3 separate regions of the Homo sapiens genome follow, and all the other regions are linked to region 2. Evidence: promoter capture Hi-C in 16 types of primary human blood cells and fetal thymus (Javierre and others, 2016). All regions are on one chromosome and are shown on one strand. Each heading gives the region's core, a stretch centred on a gene start or on the middle of the fragment in contact. The rest is flanking DNA. Distances are from core to core; before and after follow the strand shown. Region 1 has its middle 15 kb from the start of CAVIN3. Region 2 holds the start of OR52B2 (olfactory receptor family 52 subfamily B member 2). Region 3 holds the start of OR56A1 (olfactory receptor family 56 subfamily A member 1).

Region 1 (2,700 bases), core at 129-2,628, 130 kb before region 2:
TTTCAAACATTCTATTTCAAAAGAAAGTTCTCATGTTTTAGGATTTCTCTTCTGAGTTTCTCAAACTCAGCTTGCAACATTTCTATCAAGGGAAGGGCTGAAATCTTGATCTTTTCTCTAAATCAGTGGGTTGGGGGATCTAAGAGAATACTTCAAGCAGACTCATTTTGACGTTTAAGCATTAATTACCCAGCCAGACTGTTAAATACATTGGACTTTATGATAGTGAGAGGTTTGTTCTTCTAATCCTTTTCAACTAGCTGCTAACTTGGCTCTCGACTTCCAAGGTTTATAAACAAGTGAGCCTCAAATATATGGACATGACCATCCACCCTTTATTTCTTCCTGAAATACAGACACAATAAAACCCACACATTTTGCCTAGCAGATTTCAGGTTATACTAATGAGAGGAAAGTAAATAGAAAAAAACAACATTCTAACTCACATTGAACAAAAATCAACTTAAAGCTTACTTGAAGATGGCAGAATACTAAAACTGTAAGGATAATAGAAATACCTAAAACAGGGGAAAAACTTCAAAAACAAGAAGTAACTACAGGCAAAAATTAAAAATAAATATAATAAATTAAAAAGCTTAATAGCATGTTTTAGTCTGTTGTGGTTACTATAAGAAAATACAATAAACTGAGTAGCTTATAAACAACGGAAATTTATTTCTCATACTTCTGGAGACTGGGAAGTCCAAAATCAAGATGCTGGCAGATCCAGCATCTGGTAAGGGTCTGCTCTCTAGTTCACAGATGGTGCTTTTTCTCTATGTCTTCACATGGTAGAAGGGCTGTGGACTCTCTCTTAGGCCTTTCTTATAAGGACATTAATCCCTTTAATTCTCATGATCTAATCTCTAATCACCTCCCAAAGGTGCCACCTTGTAATATCATCACCTTGTCTGTTAAGATTTCAACATATGAGTTTTTGGGGGACACAAACATTCAGATCATAGCACAACTTCAACAAAGAGCAAAGCTACAAAAGCCAAACCCTAGAGGGAATCTCCGCAGTGTGGTAAACACTCACTTAGCAGATTGACTTTTCAGCACTGATTAAAGGAGCAGCCACATATATTCAAATAGAATTATGCTGTACTTTACTGATCCTTGCTCGCTGATTCACAGCGAACTGACCCAGCACTATGCACTCCATCTAAACTAGGTCAATTACCCTCTTTTCTCTAGACCAGTTGTTCTCAACTGCAGGCATACCCTCCACCACCGACCCCAGGGGGGACATTTACCAATGTCTGGAGACACTTTTTAGTGTCACAACTGGCACCTAGTAGACAGACATCGGGGATGTTGTTAAACGTCTTACAATGCACATGATAGTACCTTACAACAAATAATTAGCCTATCCAAAATGTCAATATTGCCAAGATTGGTAAACCTCAACATTTGATTGATGCCTGATGTGACCATTAAACAGACTATTTCTTACATGGGTATCTATAGTTAAGAATTGGTGAAAGATATTCTGCTAGTATGTGATGAAGGGTGAGATGGGGGAGCTTTAAGTTTTACCACTTCTTTTTCTTTTTTTTTTTTTTTAGTTTTACTTATTTTTTAAGTTAGAAGATATTGCCTAGAATTCATAAAAACATTGCAATGATACAGGTTGTAATTCCGGATAAATTGTTTGGTAAAGAGAAAGTTGAGTTTATTATTTTTTTCTTAGTTAGTAATAAACTTATTCTATGCCTCTTTCTCTACAGTACTCAATATAAGAGACTGTGCTGAAGCATTAATGTAACAATATTTATTGTTAGTCAGGATGAATCCCTCACTCACTCTGGAGTCCTGTAATACAGAACAAGCTATTTCTGTTGTGAAGACTCTACAATTCATGCTTCTGCATATGATCCATAATGGAAAAAGATCCAAGTTAATTTAGGATGACCTTCTACCTTGCCAATGATAGCACATCAGACAAACTCCAGGAATGTGTAGAAATATTCTCACAAGGATGTGGTGAAATTTTGTTTTTTGTTTTATTTTCCAAAATACTAGTACTCATTATCAGAACACCTTTCTGTGTCTGTGGTATAATAGAACAGGGTTCTGGAATGTTCCCCCAAAAAGGCACCAGTGAACATATACCATCAGAGCCACCAGCAAAGCAAAATAAAAGGGAGTGAAAGCTTATAAGATTATTTGCAAAGAGTAATTTTTAGGGTAAGACACAAAAGGGTAGGAGTACGTATATATCTGTGTATTTTTCAGAGATATCTTAAAAATTAGTTTTTTAGAGGGTTTAATTTTGTATTTTTAAAAAAATTATAAAAATTTTGTCATTCGTAAGTTATTTACATATATATGCTGCTATCAAATGCACTTGTCACCTGTAGAGAACAACTGATGCCAACACGAAGTTAATAGCAATAGTAAGTGAAAATAGAAAACTGTCACATGGTAGTGTTATTAAGGGGTCTCACCATATCACCATGTCATTAATTTTAATATGGATTTTAATATTTAATATGATACAAATTAGCTTTAACTGTGATTTTCTGCTTTTGATTTAGGTGTGATTAAACAGAAAGGGGGAAGAAACATAGTGTGGATCCGGTGCAGACACACATCATCCCCACAGCGGGAAGTTAAAAAGGGGTTTAATGATGTAGAAAAGGGCATTCAGGTCAGTGCATGCTGACCAGGCTTGTCAGCAGTTTGTCTGAAAGGAAC
Region 2 (2,700 bases), core at 197-2,696:
TGGCCCAAATATTTAAAATATACTGACTTGAATGCTGTCAGATTATTAGCCTGCCTGCGGCCTTTACTTGTCTGGATCTGGCTCTATTCCCTTCCTTGTACCCATCTGGAGTCCCATTGCTCCCTCCCCACAGCCCACTGTGCTCTGAGAAAGTTCATTTGCATAGAGGCAGAGGGATGGACTAATAAACTGAGGATTTGATTCCTTTGCATCTCTTCTTTGGGGCCCTCTGAATACCATTATCAGAAGATCAGTCTAGTGTTTATTTGGTACCTTTATAGTTCTGATTCTCTCTTTACTGTCTCTGTGGTCCCTTTTCTTCATGTTCCCTTCTAGATTCTTAATCATACACTCTTTCCCTAGTCCTAATAGCTGACAGATAGTTCAGAACTTCAGAATGAAACAAATATTACCTGAGTGGCAGGCAAGCCAAGAAGGGCTCTATACTTAATCCTTCTTGGCAGCAGGGAAACATGGTTCCTTCTGAGCGTTGGGGAACAGTGGGGTGGGAAGAAGGGCAGTATTAGTGGAGTCAGCAGAGTTTACAGGTGGGCAATAGATTGATTTCTTTTGCTCAGAATCGTTTTCCTGGGGGGCTTCTACAGATAAGGAAGCCCAGACATAACCAAGAGGCTCCTGTATAGAAATATTTGAGGAGGAGCATGAGAAGTCCATGAGGAGCTGGTGATGAAAATTGCCTGTCTCAGTTTCATTGGCTGCCCCATTGCTCACTGCATTAGGGAAGATATGAATCTGGATCAGAGTGGAGAAATGTACCCCTCTAGGCTTCCTCTGGATTCCCACTTGATACTCTACTCCCTTGCACAAGGGGCCAGAGGTGCAAGTGTCCTGTGAAATGTTCAAGGCAATAGCCAGATAAACTTAATAGGATTAAATATAACCCAGTTAAAATATAGTTTAGTTAATAGTTTTTTAGGAAGGAGATATATTGCTATGAACACAGACCATTACAAAGTGGTATGTCTTGAGGACTTATTTTAAGGTTAAAATTTTGTTAAACAGAAGTAGAAGGGGAGGGAAATTAAAGGTAAATGCAGAACAAAATCTTGGGGAAAGGGACAAGTACAACACAGGTAGGTGGAAAATGCTGCTTGTGTGGAAATAGTAGAATGAGGTCAGAAAGGGAGAGTGAGGCCAAACTCTGGGGGCAGGGTGGTTGCAGGAAGGTGCTGCCACTTCTGTTCATACTTGAAGCATTATTGCCACAGAAGCTCTATCTGCAAAGGAAGCACTATGGGCCAGAAGCCATTCCTATACCAAGTGAACATTCTCTGGGAGTACTTGCTGCTGGAGAGTCCAGCAATTTAGAAATCCATGCTGTCTTTTATGATATTTATACATATTCGGGAGTGCTTTCTGTTTCTATCACTTTCAGTAGACTCATCAGCTTCTAAGTCATTATAGAGAGGACCATAAAGTGCATCATGAGTCACACCAATGTTACCATCTTCCATCCTGCAGTTTTTGTCCTTCCTGGCATCCCTGGGTTGGAGGCTTATCACATTTGGCTGTCAATACCTCTTTGCCTCATTTACATCACTGCAGTCCTGGGAAACAGCATCCTGATAGTGGTTATTGTCATGGAACGTAACCTTCATGTGCCCATGTATTTCTTCCTCTCAATGCTGGCCGTCATGGACATCCTGCTGTCTACCACCACTGTGCCCAAGGCCCTAGCCATCTTTTGGCTTCAAGCACATAACATTGCTTTTGATGCCTGTGTCACCCAAGGCTTCTTTGTCCATATGATGTTTGTGGGGGAGTCAGCTATCCTGTTAGCCATGGCCTTTGATCGCTTTGTGGCCATTTGTGCCCCACTGAGATATACAACAGTGCTAACATGGCCTGTTGTGGGGAGGATTGCTCTGGCCGTCATCACCCGAAGCTTCTGCATCATCTTCCCAGTCATATTCTTGCTGAAGCGGCTGCCCTTCTGCCTAACCAACATTGTTCCTCACTCCTACTGTGAGCATATTGGAGTGGCTCGTTTAGCCTGTGCTGACATCACTGTTAACATTTGGTATGGCTTCTCAGTGCCCATTGTCATGGTCATCTTGGATGTTATCCTCATCGCTGTGTCTTACTCACTGATCCTCCGAGCAGTGTTTCGTTTGCCCTCCCAGGATGCTCGGCACAAGGCCCTCAGCACTTGTGGCTCCCACCTCTGTGTCATCCTTATGTTTTATGTTCCATCCTTCTTTACCTTATTGACCCATCATTTTGGGCGTAATATTCCTCAACATGTCCATATCTTGCTGGCCAATCTTTATGTGGCAGTGCCACCAATGCTGAACCCCATTGTCTATGGTGTGAAGACTAAGCAGATACGTGAGGGTGTAGCCCACCGGTTCTTTGACATCAAGACTTGGTGCTGTACCTCCCCTCTGGGCTCATGAATCTTCATGTCCAGCTCCTTCAAGGAAGCTAGATGTGAAATACAGAGATTTCCTGGACTGAGAAGGCTTTTCTTCCTCTTCTTTCTATTTCATCTTCCGCCCCCAACTTTTCTTTCTTTTCTCATAATTCTTCCTCCTTCTCTTGTTTGTTTTCTCTAACCTCTTTACATATTCCTCCCTACAACCCAGAAATAATAACTAAGTGTACATGCCTCTGATATGAGGCTTTGGTACCCTCAGTAGACTAGATAGACGCCAGAAGCGCAGGGATCTGAACACCACA
Region 3 (2,726 bases), core at 180-2,679, 140 kb after region 2:
CTTTCTGAATTTATGTCCTAAACTACGATCCTTCTAATTTTCTCAAACTCTTCAGTTTGAAACAGCCGAAAACAAATCTATGTGTGGCGATTATAAACACCTCGTTCTTGACATATCCCAGTACACACTAATCTTACTCATTTAGCTGTATTTTACATCTTGGTGATGCAACTTATTTACTCAAGCTAGTAAACCGGGGGTCACTCTGGGCTTCTCACCTATTTTCTCCTTTAAAACAAATCTGTCAATAAGTTCTGTCTATATGACTTCTGGAAGATTCACCTTCTTCCCATCCTCAGTGCCTCAGCCTTTGTTCAGTTGCACGTCACTTCTCACCTTGGCTATTGCGGCCGCCATTCTTTCTATTTCTGCTCTCTTGCCTTACCCAAGTTCATGCATAATAATGTGTCCAGAGTGATCTTTCTGTACGTACCCTAAATCTGGTCATGTCTCTCTTCTAATGGAAATATTTTTTTCCATTTCTTTTCATCCATATGACTAGTTCTAAAATCTTCAGCATAGAAAATGTACTTAAGATCTGGCTTTTTCTTTTATCAACTCCATTTTTGGCTCTTTCTTTCAACTCCTCATCCTTTTGGCTCCAGTCAGATTAAATATTGCATAGAATTTCCTTCCAAAGTTATTCTCAGACTCATCTCCATGCTTTCACATAATCCATTTTTTATATCTTCAATACACTACACAGATTTAATGCATGTAAATCCTCCACATCTATTGAAATAAAACTCAGCTAAGTTGTTAGCAGCTTTAGGAAAGCTTCTCTTTTCCTCTAGGGTTGAGTTCAGAAATTTTCCTTTGTGCCTTCCTATTATTCTGCTCATATGTCTAATTAACTCACTCTACAAATATTTTTAGCCATTTCATGTCAAGCACTGGGCTAATTGATGTTATTTTCATGGCATGAAATGTCTAATTGGGCATTGGAAGAAGGAGTATGTAAGCAACTTATCATATAAATGTATAACTACAGATGATGAGGATGGTTCAAAGTACTACAGAAACATAAAATAGGAGGACTTGATCTTGTGTAAAGGGGGTTAGAACAAACCTCTCAGAGAAGAGAGTATTTGAATTGAGATGTAAAGGATGAGGAGAAAGTAAGTGTTGTGTAGAAGCATAAGATGCACAGCCTTCCAAGAGAAGTGGGATCAGAAAGCTCATGTAACGTTCGAAGATCTGAAAGGACGGTGTGGCTGAAGCTCAGGGAGCAAGGGAGATGGGGTGTTAGATGGAACTGGAAAATGAGGAAGGAGGTAGATAATATATGGCATTGCCTGCTTTCCTTCCTCCCCTCCCTCCCTTCCTCCTTCCTTTTCCTTCCTTCCTTCCTTTCATAATGTAGTCAGTTAACTATGTGTACCTAGCAATCTATCTATACCCTGTTTATATAGTGATGATAAAAGAAAAACCACACATGGTTTCTTCCCTCATGAACTTATGGTCTCATGAAGTTCAAGTAAAAAATTTCCTTTTTATAATATTAGCAATGAGAAGCCACTGAAATATTTTAATCAGATGACTGGTAATATTTATATTTAAAAACATTTCCTTGATTTCAATGTAGAGAATGGTTTATAAAGAAACCTAGACTGCATTAGGAGGCAATATTTACTTTTTACTCGAGGTAATAGTACTTGGATGGTGAGAGTGGATATGGAGAAGTGGATGGATTCCAGGGCTAATTAAAAGGGAAAATGACATGTCTTAGTGGTTTCATCATGTACTTCGTATCATTTTCAATGGGTAGAATAAATGTTCAAGACATTTTCTGGGCGCTGGCTTCTAAAACTGACAAATATTTACACCAGTCACTGAGATGCTGGCAAAAGACCAGGTTTTTAAATTTTGGACTTGGTGAGCTTTGAATATCTTTGGGAAACCCAGGTTGATACATAAAGTAGGCTTCTGGAGAGGTCTAAGTAAGAAACATAATTCAGTAATTTAGTAATAGAGATGGTAATTGTCTAATGACATAGACAAGATAAAAGAAGTGGAAGAAGGGAAAACAGAATATCAGAGAGGAAAGAAGAAAAGCGAAGAAAATGTAGGACTGAAGCTTTAAACTGACGTCAAGGTAGTGGATGATGGATGTGTTCGAGAAAATGAGAGGGAGTGACCAGGAGGTACAAGGTAAACTAGAAGTCTGTGATATATGAATTAGGCCAAAGAGAGTGTTTCAAGGAAGAGGATTTGATCAACTGTTTCAACAAGATTTAACAATAGGGAAGCTGTAGGTGATTTCTGAGAGCTATTTTGTGGAACTAATGGAGATGGAAGCCAAATTGAAGTGAGTTGTGGAATGGATGTAAGGTGAGGGAATGGAGACAGTGAGTGTAAATGCTTGTGAGAGGTTTGTGCATGAAGGGAAGGGGAGAGTTAGAGAAAGAGCCAGAATTCAAAGCTGGGAGAGATGGGATCAATTCTTGAAGATGGACAGATTATTTATTTTAATGAAAGGAAACAAGAAAAGGATGAGAGTATATACACATTATTTATAAGTCTTACAAAATTTTATATAAATTTATAGGATCAAAGTGCAATTTTGTTCCATGCATAGATTGTATAGTAGTTAAGTCAGGGCTTTTAGGGTATCCATCACCTGAATGATGTACATTATTCTCATTAAGTAATTTCTCATTATCCACCCCCTCTCACCCGCCTCACCCTTCTGAGTCTCCATTGTCAATCATTTCACTCTCTACATC

Evidence for each region. Contacts are between HindIII fragments. The CHiCAGO score rates a contact against its expected background, and 5 or more counts as called.
Region 1: a fragment that was not itself captured here is called in contact with the fragment with the promoter of OR52B2 in region 2 in 1 of 17 cell types (monocytes); the score reaches 5.6 in monocytes.
Region 3: a fragment that was not itself captured here is called in contact with the fragment with the promoter of OR52B2 in region 2 in 4 of 17 cell types (M1 macrophages, M0 macrophages, M2 macrophages and 1 more); the score reaches 8.5 in M1 macrophages.

The regions. Positions count from the first base shown.
Region 1 is chr11:6,303,882-6,306,581 of GRCh38, reverse strand. No RefSeq gene overlaps it. Among named protein-coding and RNA genes, the nearest start is that of CAVIN3, 15 kb to the left of the region's middle. RefSeq lists an enhancer at 2,323-2,700. The HindIII fragment of the contact is 1,561 bases long and covers 598-2,158 here.
Region 2 is chr11:6,169,072-6,171,771 of GRCh38, reverse strand. It overlaps OR52B2 (olfactory receptor family 52 subfamily B member 2), which reads left to right and starts at 1,446. Exons shown (of 1, transcript NM_001004052.1): 1 at 1,446-2,417. The coding sequence starts at 1,446. The coding sequence ends at 2,417. The HindIII fragment of the contact is 5,039 bases long and covers 1-1,908 here.
Region 3 is chr11:6,029,094-6,031,819 of GRCh38, reverse strand. It overlaps OR56A1 (olfactory receptor family 56 subfamily A member 1), which reads left to right and starts at 1,062. Exons shown (of 2, transcript NM_001388488.1): 1 at 1,062-1,118. All of the region lies in intron 1 of LOC107984303 (a long non-coding RNA gene), which reads right to left. The HindIII fragment of the contact is 1,300 bases long and covers 780-2,079 here.